Regions from separate parts of the Homo sapiens genome. Here all the other regions are linked to region 2. Evidence: promoter capture Hi-C in 16 types of primary human blood cells and fetal thymus (Javierre and others, 2016). All regions are on one chromosome and are shown on one strand. The core of a region is centred on a gene start or on the middle of the fragment in contact, and the rest is flanking DNA. Distances in the headings are between cores, read along the strand shown.

Region 1 (4,081 bases), core at 1,031-3,530, 720 kb before region 2:
CAAGTGATCCACCTGCCTTGGCCTCCTAAAGTGCTGGGATTACAAGCTGAGCCACCGCATCTGGCCCCCTTTTCTTTCTTCTTCTTCTTTCCTCCTCCTCCCCCTCCCCCTCCTCCTCTTCTTCTTCTTTCCTCCTCCTCCCCCTCCCTCTCCTCTTCCTCTTCTTCTTTCTTCCTCCTCCCCCTCCCCCTCCTCCTCTTCTTCTTCTTTCCTCCTCCTCCCCCCTCCCCCTCCTCTTCCTCTTCTTCTTCTTCTTTTTTTTTTGAGACAGGGTCTTGCTCTGTCACCCAGGCTGGAGCATAGTAGTGCTATCATGGCTCACCACAGCCTCAACCTTCCAGGCTCAAGCAATCCTCCCACCTCAGCCTCCCAAGTAGCTGGGTCTATAGGCGCATGCCACCATGCCTGGCTAATTTTTCTACTTTTTTTTTTTTTTTTTTTTTTTTTGTAGAAATAGGCTTTTGCCATGTTGCCCAGGCTGGTCTCAAACTCCCCACTTAAAAAAAAAATCCTTAAAAATGCCACAACATGGTATAAAAGTAGCCACATAGACCAGTAGAACAAAACAGAGAACTCAGAAATAAAGACACATAGTTACAGCCAACTGATCTTCAACAAAGCCAACAAGAATTTATACTGGGGGCCGGGTACAGTGGCTCACACCTGTAATCCCAACACTTTGGAAGGCTGAGGCAGGAGGATTGCTTGAACCCAGGAGTTCAAAACCAGCCTAGGCAACAGAGTGAGACCCCATCTCTACAAAAAATAAAACACCAGTCAGGTGTGGCAGCAAATGCCTGTAGTCTGAGCTACTTGGGAGGGTGAGGCAGGGGGATCATCTGGGCCCATGAGGTTGAGGCCACAGTGAGCAGTGATCATGCCACTGCACTCCAGCCTGGGTGACAAGGCAAGACTCTGTCTCAAAAAAACACAAAAACAAACAACAAAAACTTACACTGGGGAAAGGACAATCTCTTCAATAAACGGTGCTGGGAAAATTGTATAGCCATGCAGAAGAATGTAACTGGACCATTATCTCACCATATACAAAAATGAACTCAAAGTAGATTAAAGACTTAAAAGTAAAACCTGATACTATAGAAATATTAGAAGAAAAAATCTAGGGAACCCTCTCCTGGTTGTTGGTTTAGGCAAAGAATTTGTTACAAAGGCCTCAAAAGATCAGGCAACAAAACCAAAAATAAGTGATTGGGAATTAATTAAACTAAAAAGCTCCCACACACAAAAAAAAAAAAACAAAACAAAAAAATCAACAGAGTGAAGAGACAACCTGCAGAATGGGATAAAATATTTGCAAATTATTTATCCAACAGGAACTAATATATAGAACAGATAAGGAACTCAACTCAACAGGAAAAAAACAAATAATCCCATTCATACTTGGGCAAAGTATATGAATAGCCATTTCTCAAAAAAATAAATACAAACAGCCAACAGGTATATGAAAAAATGTTCAACCTCATGAATCATCAGAGAAATGCAAATCAAAACCACAATGAGATAGCATACCTCAGCCAGAATCCCTATTATTAAAAAAGACAGATGTTGACAAGAAAGTGGAGAAAAGGGAACTCATATACACTGTTGGTGGGAATGTAAACTAGTACAGCCACTATGGAAAACAGTATGGAGATTTCTCAAAAAAATAAAAATATAATTACCATTTGATCCAGCAATGCCACTACTGGGAATCGACTCAAAGAAAAAGAAGTCAATATATCAAAGAACTCACATATATACAGTTAGGAGGCTTTAAAACACTCAAGAAGTGGTATGTAATTTTGCCTGGAAACAGCTGATGAATTGAGCAAGAGGCTGTACCGAGACTGACACACCAGGAAATGCTATGCATAGTAAACTTTCATCCCTCCAAGGGGTGAAGTCCTAGGTTTATATCATGTTGGGAAACCAGTAATGAGTGTATTCATCTTTGGGGACCCTTTCTCTTCTGTCCTCATCCATTTATATATAGGTAAATGTTAGTGAAGCTTAAACACTAGGGAAAGCAGAGACAGAAGTGATTTAAGAGAATAACATTGAAAAAGAGTACACAAGAGAGGGTTTGTAAAGTTATATAAACGACTCCACTGCTACCAACCATGTCTCTATGAAGATGTAAGAAGGATGTTACTAATTATAGGAACTCACAATTTTAAAAAATCACCAGCAGGAGCAACTCCACCCTTTCCTCTACCTTTTCCCCCTATCACCTAGAGACACTAGCAGCCTGGTACACATAAAAATACAGAGTGAACTTTAAGAATCATAATAATATACCCTGAGGATCGCTAAGGAGCCTAAGTTTCTTTCTGCCACAGGGGATCTAGCATCTTTCTGCCAAGAAGTACAAAAGACTAAACATACCACTTCACAGTAGTATATTGCGTAGTAAATCTTAATTGCTATGCCACCATCTGTATAACACTTTACTGCAAAGCACTTTTGAGTATATAGTTTCATTCAACTGTAAAAATATTAATCCGGCATATAGGCCATTATTAATTACCTCCATTTTACAATGCAAGCTTAAATATGTTAGATGATTTACCTGAGTTCACAGAATTAAGACTGGAATGACAAGTTTCCTGATTATAATTCAGTTCTCTTTCCATTAGACCATTGGCTCTCAACCATGGCTGCTTATTAAAATCACCTGGGGAGCTTTCATAACACACAGAGGCAGGAGATCCATCTTAGGTCAAATAAATAGAAATTTCTCAGGAGTAGAATGTGGTCACTTGTATTTTTAAGAACTTCCAGGAGTTTCTAGTATGAAACCAGACTGAGAACTGAGCATTACCAAGTTTTCAAGCAATCATGATAATTTAAGAGCATAGTTTTCCTATTTGCACTTATCCATCTATACATCAGGGATATGTAAAATCTACAACTTCTAACCAGTGAATCATAATTATCAACTTTTTTAGAAAGCACAAATAAGCTTCTAGTATATTTTCAGTTAAGTAATTTATCTAGCAAACCATTTTCTATTAGTAATTAGCTTTTATGGAACAAAATATCCACAACTTTGGGTACTAAAAGTATATCTAGTCATATTTAACTGTAAAATTTATTTAAACCGTAAAATGGATGAGAGTGCTTGTTCCTTTATTAGGAGCCAAGCAAGAGAAAGGTACCTATCTAATGGAGGCAGATAATTAAATCACTCATGCTGAAAGTTCTTTCCCAAGTAACCCTGTCCTCACATCAAGCAGTTATACTAGAAATCACAGATCTTCCTGCCATAGTGAGGAGGAGATGTCTCCATTTAAAAAAAGATGGAAGAATTAGTTTAGTTAATTGCTCTGAGATCTACTAAATGACAAAACAAAAACAATTTAAAAGTGAGAGCTACAAGGCAAAGAGACCTAATTAGCAAAGAAAATTGTAGCAACAGTAATATAGCGGTTGCTGCAAAAATTTTACAATTATGGGGAAAGGCTCTATAAGCCCTGTGAAATTCATTCCCATTTAAACATAGTATATTGAACCTAATATTAAACGGTCTGCAAGTTCACAATAGAAGTTCATTAATACTATACTATAAATCAAAAGCTTTAGAGCAGGAGTTAGAAGATCCATATCACAGTTTCATTTCTGCCACCAACTAGCTTAGTTAAGTGTCTCAACCTCCCCCATGTGTAAGATTCCTAAACAGTAAATTGAGGAGTACCAGTTAAGAATAACAAAAGAGATTTGTTAAAAGTTCAGATTCCTGGATCCCACCCTGGATAATTCTGATTCATTAAGTCTAAGACGGGTATTAACATCTACTGTATTTTAGTGCCACCCACCCCACTCTGCAGACCCTAGAAACCACTGATTTCTATATATTTTACAAGGTAAGAGAAGTCAAATAAGAAAAATGTAGAAATACTGGTATAGGTCAACTGAGGAGGGCCTTATACAAGTAGGCCTGAATTCCAATTCCTTATTCCACCATTCCTGCTTCTACCCCTGAAATTCATCGCAGCAAAACTGCTGGGGGGAAATAACCAGTGAAGTGTCTTTCTGATTACTTCCTGAGTGTCTTCCTATTTCTCTAACTGGGATTTAATTT
Region 2 (3,863 bases), core at 721-3,220:
TCAAATGCATCTTTATATCACTAAAATGAATTTGGGTTTGGGGAAGCGCCGCCATTTTTAACTTTTTTTTTTTTTTTTTTTTTTTTTTTGAGACAGAGTTTAGCTCTTTTTGCCCAGACTGGAGTGCAATGGCGTGATCTCGGCTCACTACAACCTCCACCTCCCAGGTTCAAGTGATTCTCCTGCCTCAGCCTCCCGAGTAGCTAGGACTATAGGTGCACGCCACCACACCTGGCTAATTTTTGTATTTTTAGTAGAGATGGGGTTTCTCCACGTTGGTCAGGCTCCGGACCTCAGGTGATCCGCCCCCCTCAGCCTCCTAAAATGTTGGGATTACAGGCGTGAGCCACTGCATCTATCTGTCCTTTAACGTATTTTTAATTGAAATATTGACGAGATAAAAATAAACAACGTAAAAATCATACTGCTTAAGGGAACCTTTAAGGAGCCTTACCAACTGTGGTATAACTATTAATAGTTCAAAGAAATTACATTATCTAGGTTACTTGCAATGGAAGTTGAGTTACTCGCTTCACCTAAACAAGGAAGTTGGCATGTTTGCCTAGCAACAGTCGCTAAAACCTTCTGTTGTGGAAGGTTCCCTAGGAGTGAGAAGAAGGGAGGAGGAGGAAAAGCAGGAGGAGCAGATTAATCTGTTTTTCCTAGCAGGGTACAGAGGCCTGGTCTGAGAAGGGAAAGGCTTTAAGAGATCCCTTTAGATTGGCACATGCTAACCTAAATCCCCCTGTGGTAGCTAGAAATTCACTCTCTGTAGGACTGGGGTTACTATTTAGTAGGCTGAAAAGACGATTACAGATTAAACCCAGTTCAGAGGCAGCAAATTCCAATCAGTGGAAAGACAACAATAGGTCTTCTAAACAGAAGCTGAGATCTCAGTAGCAGGAGGGTGCTAACAACTAAAAAGAATTCTTCTCTGCCAAGAGTTTAGGAAGGTGTGTGATATTTCTTAAAAATAATACAAAAACACTATCTGTGATAGCGATTCCAATGTATCAAGTTAAAGGCAGAAGTGCTTCTCTTGGGGTACTGTGATGTAAACAGTGAAGAAAGGACAGAAAAACATAATCTCTGCTCTCTTGGTCAAATCCTGAAGCAAAAAAGGTGATAGCGCCGAGTAGAGGTATTAAATGGTTGTTTATTTGGGGACTCTCTCTCTCCTCTATTCTAGATGATTTATTTTGAAATTAGTACTGTATGGTGTTACAATAATCCCATTTCTTCCCCTTCTCAAAAGCGAGGGTTTGGCTAAAATGAATTGTCTGAAGGGACCTCCCATTCCCCAAAACCAAAACGGCACCTTTTCCACAAGGGACAAGAAACTTTTAAAGAGTCGCAAGGTTAGATTTCAGGAGCCCTTCTATGGGCCATATCTTTTCCTGTCGTCCCCAAATAGCTCTTATTGTTCACACAGCCCAGGAGAGACGTTTTGGAGTAGCGTGTCCGGGCCTTTTGGGCTGTTTCACAGCCTTAGGAGGCTGAACTCCCAGAGGGGTGACGAGGACAAAGCTGATGAGATCCAGAACCTGGATAATATGGAAGAAGAAAAATGGGGTGGGGGACAAGACGTGAAAAAGAAACAAGAGTTGGGGGACAACGGCTGAGAAAGCCGAAAGAGTAGACGTAGTGTGGGGTTCGATGGAAACGAAAGAAATTCCCCCAATTTACTCTCGCCATCTGGCCACTGGCCCGCTGAGCCCAAAGGCGCCGGTGCGGGAGGGCAGACCGGACCGAGGGACCGGTTCATCTGCTCAGGGCGTGTGAGACTTTCGGTCGCGGCGGAGAGCGTCGCCGGTCTCCCTCCGGGCGTTGGTGGCCGGTGACTCAGAGCTTTGCTCCCGCGCCCGCCCCTCCCCTCCGCCCGCCCCGCCTCCTGAGGGAGGATCCTCGCCCTCGTCTCCGCCCCAGTCTCCGGGGCGGGCCGGAGCCTGAGGAAGAGGAAGGGGACGAGGACAACGAGCGACTGGGCGGCGGAGGACGAGGAGGAGGAAGAGGAGGCCGAGCAACAAGATGGCCCCTGCTGCAGGAGCAGCCTCAGCAGCAGCAGGTGGGAGGCCGGAGGCGGTGCTGGCGGTGGCGGCGGCAGCCGTGGCCCGGCGGCCTGGGACAGAATCAGAGTCAACGGTGGCCTCGGCGGCGGCGGCGGCTGCCGCGGCGGTGGCGACGGCCGCGGGGACTCGGAGCTGAGAGGAGCTGCTGCTCGGACCAGCGCGGTGAGCGAGCGGCGGGCGGCGACTTGGGGAGCGGGGCTGCCGCGGCCGGGGCCTCAGTCGGGAACAATAGGCAGCTGTGGTCGGGAAGGGTTTGTCCTCGCCCGCCCTCTGCTCCTCCGCGGCAGCGGCAGCCCGGCCGGCCCCAGGCTCCTCAGGGCCCCCGCCGGCTGTTCTGGGGCTTGTCAGTGGCCGGCGTCCTTTAGGCCTCAGGCCTCTGCATGCCGCCTGTAGGGCCTGTCGGGGTAGGTAGGCCGAGAGGAGGACGAAGGGAGGCTCGGACGAGAGGGAGGGGGCGAAAGGGCTACCTGGCTCCTGTGGTACTCCCAGGGCCTGGGCCAGGCGGGGAATGCGCACGGGAACTGCTTTTTGGACCCCTAGTCTGTGGGGGTGGGGGAGGGCGAAGGCGTCTGTAAACAGGCGCCGCCTCGGCCTCCCAGCACCTCAGGGCTGCTTCCTCCCCCAGCCCCTGAAGCGCTCCCCTTCTTTGGCCAAGTGGATTTCACGGTGTCTGTTTCCCTGAAGTCCCTGGAGATCTAGCCTGGTAGTCTTCTCCCTGCTGGCGATGGGAAAATTGTGTGTGTGCAGGTGTCTTTAAAAAAAAAAAACAAAAAACTTAAATGCAACAAAAACATATAAAATGTGGTTATCGGTAAAGGATGGAGTGGTAAGGGATGCGCCTCTCTAAACATCTCTAAGTATCAGTTCTATAAACATCAGTTATGCCCGCATCCCAGGTGAGAGTGGATTGAAACAAGGGCTCTTTTGGAACAGTAATAACACAACTCTTGACATACCAGAATAGCCTATGAAACTGGAAACAAACACTGGCAACGCGGAGACAAACTGTAATGTTTAAAGAGGACTTTTATTCCAGCTAGGCGTTTTGAATTACTAACATGCAGTATAAGAAGCAACATTAACTAGCATAAAGTGGACCTCAGGAAGCACTTCGAAAGGAGACAGGTGGTTCATCTCCGGCCATAGAGCTTCTTGTGCCTTGTCTCGTGTTTCAGTAATTTTTCCTGAAATTGTTCAAGACCAGTCTTTTCTCTGAGTTTGAAATTTGATTTCGTTTTTGTTTTGTTTTGCGACGGAGTCTTGCTCTGTCACCCAGGCTGGATTGCAGTGGCACAATCTCGGCTCACTACAGCCTCCACCTCCCGGATTCAAGCGATTCTCCTGCCTCACCATCCGGAGTAGCTGGGATTACAGGCGCCCGCCACCATGCCCGGCTGATTTTTGTATTTTTAGTAGAGACGGGGTTTCACCATGTTGGCCAGGCTGGTCTGGAACTCCTGACCTCAAGTCATCTGCCCTCCTCCGCCTCCCAAAGTGCTTGGATTACAGGCGTGAGCCACCTCGCTCAGCCTTAAACTTAATTTTTCAAGGCTTCTACCACATTTTCTTACAAGTGAGGGAAAAGGTAGATTTATTTCTAAAGTACTTTCTACCTAGGTATGCAGAAATTTATATTAAAATCGCTTGGATACATCCAAGGAGATTGCTTTTCACTTGTTAACATTCAACTGCAAGGCCTAAGGGTTATAGGTTGTGTTCTTTTCAGCACTGACCTGTGCTGAAAAGATGCCAGTTAATATCTTTCACCTCTTCTAAGGGTAAATTTCTAAGTAG
Region 3 (3,699 bases), core at 298-2,797, 600 kb after region 2:
TATTATTAGTATAATAGTTGTTATTAATAAAGGTCTTTAAATGACAATTGGCCATACAGGAGCCTTTGGGGAAAAGTTTCTGACTCTAAATTAAGGGAAGGTAAATTATGATCAAGATCTGGGAATAAGATTTAGACTTACACAGTAATAATTTGAGGAAGAGAAAGACTTAGTAAATTAGTTATGTAATTACATAATTAACAACTTGGGAGGTTTTCTTTACACGTTTATTCCCTAGGGCATCATCTTTAAATTATATTTAGTTTTTGCTAAGTTGACCAGTTTGTGGTTTTAAGTGTTTACTTTCTTTTCTTTTGAAATGTAGGGAAAGCATATTTGACATCATCTTAAAGAAATTATGTAGCCATATAAAACCGGAGGGTAGGGTCTACTGGCCAGGAAAAAAAAAGGCCTTTACTGCCACCTGGTGGCCATATTCTTTAACTGCAATGTGCCTAAGTGAGGCTGGAAAGGAAAGCGTTGGAAAACATGCTAAACCCAGAGGGCACCAAGGCCGCGTCATGACAGTAAGAGCCGTCAAGTACTGTGTCCTTTCCCTCAGTTCTCAATCTCTCACAGCTTGAGGCTTGAGAATTAGCAGCTGGCTACGAGAGGTGGAGGAGAGAAAATGGTGAAGTCCATGCCTTCCTCCTTGGTACCGAGTTTCCAAACCTGAAGTGAAGGAGTCTGAGAGGGGAGAAGCTTCAGGTTGAGTAGACTGTTTTTTACTTTTTTTTTTGTTTGTTTGTTTTAAAGAGCCTCTTTATTTAATGGCTCAGAGTGGCTAGAAAATCCGTGGTATTGGTTAGCTTTCATCTCAAGTGCAGGGACAAGGCAAATCCAGAGAGAGGAGTTGAAAGGACAAAGAAAAAAGAAAAAAAATTGCTTTTTACGTGCATTTTGCTGCATGCAGCTCACTCAATAAACATGCGTTAAATGCATAAATATATCATGAGGTAAAAATCGGGGGAAAGGTGATGCATTGATGCTGATAGAGGACAGGCAAACTGCATTCCATTTGGACCGCAGCCTCTCATCCCCCCCCCCGCCACACAAACTAAGGTCAAAATCAGGGAGGGAGTCCAGGGTAAAGTTATCAGTAGAGTCAGCTCTAGGAGCTATAGTTAATCTATTTTAAAAAATCTTAAAAAACCCATAAGTCCATTATAGCAGGGACATAAAGCAGTCCTAGCCTCCTGACCCTGACCCAGCCATGGCAATCAGGGCTGCTTCCTTTTATTCTCCCTTGTGTCCTCATGGGTCTTTCCAAGCCCTGCAGGGAAGGGTGGAAGCTGGTTCCATCAGTGCCTCTCCCCCAGCTTCCACCCTCCTCTCTCTTCTGTGACCTCTCAGTTTTCCTTCTCTGTACCCCAAATCATGCCTGTCTTAGTCCATTGCTGTAACAGAATTCTACAGACTGGATCATTTATAAAGACAAGAAATTTATTGCTTATAGTTCTGGAGGCTGGGAAGTCCAAGCACATGGTGCTGGCATTTGGTGAAGGCCTTCTTGCTGCATCCTCACGTGGCAGAGGGCATCACATGGCAAGTGGGCAAGAGCAGGCTTGTCCGCTTGGGTTACTCTAACTCTTCTTTTTTTTTTTTTTTTCTGAGACGGAGTCTTGCTCTGTCACCCAGGCTGGAGTGCAGTGGTGTGATCTCAGCTCCCTGCAAGCTCCGCCTCCCAGGTTCAGGCCACTCTCCTGCCTCAGCCTCCCAAGTAGCTGGGACTACAGGTGCCCGCCACCACACCCGGCTAATTTTTTTGTATTTTTTTGGTAGAGATGGGGTTTCACCGTGTTAGCCAGGATGGTCTCGATCTCCTGACCTCGTGATCTGCCCGCCTTGGCCTCCCAAAGTGCTGGGATTACAGGCGTGAGCCACAGCACCCGGCCAGGTTACTCTAACTCTTCTTATAAAGCCACCAGCCCCACCGTGGGGGCCACACACTCATGGCCTTATTTAATCTTAATTACCTCTCAAAGGCCCTACCTCCAAATGTCATCGATATGTGAATTTGGGAATTAAGTTTCCAGCACATGAAATTTGGGGGTCACATTCAAACCATAGCAATGCTTAACCTTAGAATACTGCCTGGCATCTGCCCAGGCTTCCACAGCCACTACCTCTGGGACATGTTGGGATCTCTGTTTACATGTAAGGCTCGCCATGACCATTACACATCTGTGAGTCAGTGTAGGGTCCTGGTGGAAGCCCGGTCTTGGAGTCCCTCCATTATGTTTGCTACCCTGGCTCTCCACCTTCAATTTCTGGCTTCTCATTTTGGACTATGATGATTTTCTTGTTGTTAATTTTTTTTTTTTTTTTAGTATGAAAGTTTTCAAGACGCCTACAAGTGGAAAATGCACTCCTCCCAGCCAAATCAAGCTTCGCCAGATTCCTTACAGCTGTGTGCAGTGAAATGACTAATGAAAGAGCCCTCTGCTGCTGGTGGAACTTTCACATATGGCACTGTTATGCCACTCAGCAGGACCCGACCCTGGTATTTACATATTGGATGTCACCCCAAAAGCCCCTGACCAGGGGGTTTCCGGGATGTAATAAGAATGCCACTCTGGGCTTTGGAAGGTGCACCGTATGCACACCCATACTATAGGGCAGGGGTTAGCATTTCAGACCCCTGTTCCTCCCTTGACAAGCAAGTGCTTTTCTCCAGGGAAGACGTTCAGGTTCATTCATAGATCCATTGGTGCCGTGGGCAGCTCAGTAACAATAGCTCTGCTGCCTACCAGCTGCTGGTGGAGGTGTTGAGAATACCTAATGAGGAAGTCAGGGCCCCTGCGTGCTTCAGCAGAGCTGGATGCCTGGCATGGCAATCAATGGACACAAACCTTTGGATAATTTCCGTCCTTGGCGGTGTGTTCTATAGCATAGGTATGAAGTGGGTGCTCTGGGAGCTCAGAAGAGGGGCTCTTCTCTTAACTTATGGGTGGCCAGGGAAGGCTTCCTGGAGCTCAAATGACTGAGTGGAGTCTTCAACATTAAAAAAAAAAAAAAGAAAAAAAAAGTGCTTCCCTCCCACCCCCAGTTAAAAAGGTAATACACCTCATTGAAATAATTTAAACTTTACAGAAATGTGTTCCTTTAAAGTTCAGAGAGTAAAGAGGAAGTAATAAAGCTGAAATAGTAGAATTTCTAATTAACTGGAGCCTGTAGCTTTCTTCCTGAAAAGGGAGTGGTGTGTGTGCATGTGTGAGTGTGTGTAGGTGAATCTGTAAAGGATGGAGTAGTACTAAAAAGAGGGAGGTGAAGACGGAGGTGAGATCTCATCTTTGTGCCCTGAACCTCTTTGTTATAATGTCAGGCAATGAGAGAAATCAGTACTCACCCTCTATGGGACTCTGGCTTTTTCAAACTTGGTTTTCTAGGTTTTGGTCTTGGTTATTGATGGCTTGTAACTTCAGAGTCTCATTGCTGGCCACGCTTCCACGTGGTTTATTAAGATGTTTTCCTAAACAAAATTGATCTCTCCCTAAAAAAATTATAGGTCTAGCTGTAAGATGTTAACAATATTTAACCTGCTACAATGCCAATAAGAGTTCTTGTTTATTGAAGACTTTTTTTGCACCAGCTATGTGCTAAGAGCTTTACATTTGTTACCTCATAACATCAACCCTCACACGAACCTTATGAAGCGGGTATTTCATTATTCCCACATCCCAGATAAGGAAGCTAGGA

What was found. The method cuts DNA at HindIII sites, captures the fragments that hold promoters and counts their contacts. A CHiCAGO score of 5 or more calls a contact.
Region 1: a contact is called between a fragment that was not itself captured here and the fragment with the promoter of RC3H1 in region 2, in 1 of 17 cell types (neutrophils). The highest score is 7.4, in neutrophils.
Region 3: a contact is called between a fragment that was not itself captured here and the fragment with the promoter of RC3H1 in region 2, in 2 of 17 cell types (fetal thymus and monocytes). The highest score is 5.8, in fetal thymus.

What each region holds. Positions count from the first base shown.
Region 1 is chr1:174,738,222-174,742,302 of GRCh38, reverse strand. The region is part of intron 17 of RABGAP1L (RAB GTPase activating protein 1 like); the gene reads right to left. Among named protein-coding and RNA genes, the nearest start is that of RABGAP1L-AS1, 210 kb to the left of the region's middle. The HindIII fragment of the contact is 537 bases long and covers 2,012-2,548 here.
Region 2 is chr1:174,020,464-174,024,326 of GRCh38, reverse strand. It overlaps RC3H1 (ring finger and CCCH-type domains 1), which reads left to right and starts at 1,970. Exons shown (of 20, transcript NM_172071.4): 1 at 1,970-2,231. RC3H1-DT (RC3H1 divergent transcript) reads right to left here and starts at 1,844. Exons shown (of 2, transcript NR_187284.1): 1 at 1,687-1,844; 2 at 1,137-1,544. RefSeq lists silencers at 1,735-1,984, 2,095-2,414 and enhancers at 2,621-3,160, 3,225-3,344. The HindIII fragment of the contact is 5,810 bases long and covers 1-3,863 here.
Region 3 is chr1:173,417,254-173,420,952 of GRCh38, reverse strand. PRDX6-AS1 (PRDX6 antisense RNA 1) reads left to right here. Exons shown (of 2, transcript NR_125960.1): 2 at 2,331-3,164. All of the region lies in intron 2 of LOC100506023 (a long non-coding RNA gene), which reads left to right. It also overlaps a transcript of TNFSF4 not described here. Among named protein-coding and RNA genes, the nearest start is that of PRDX6-AS1, 42 kb to the left of the region's middle. RefSeq lists enhancers at 574-673, 2,432-2,771. The HindIII fragment of the contact is 1,686 bases long and covers 705-2,390 here.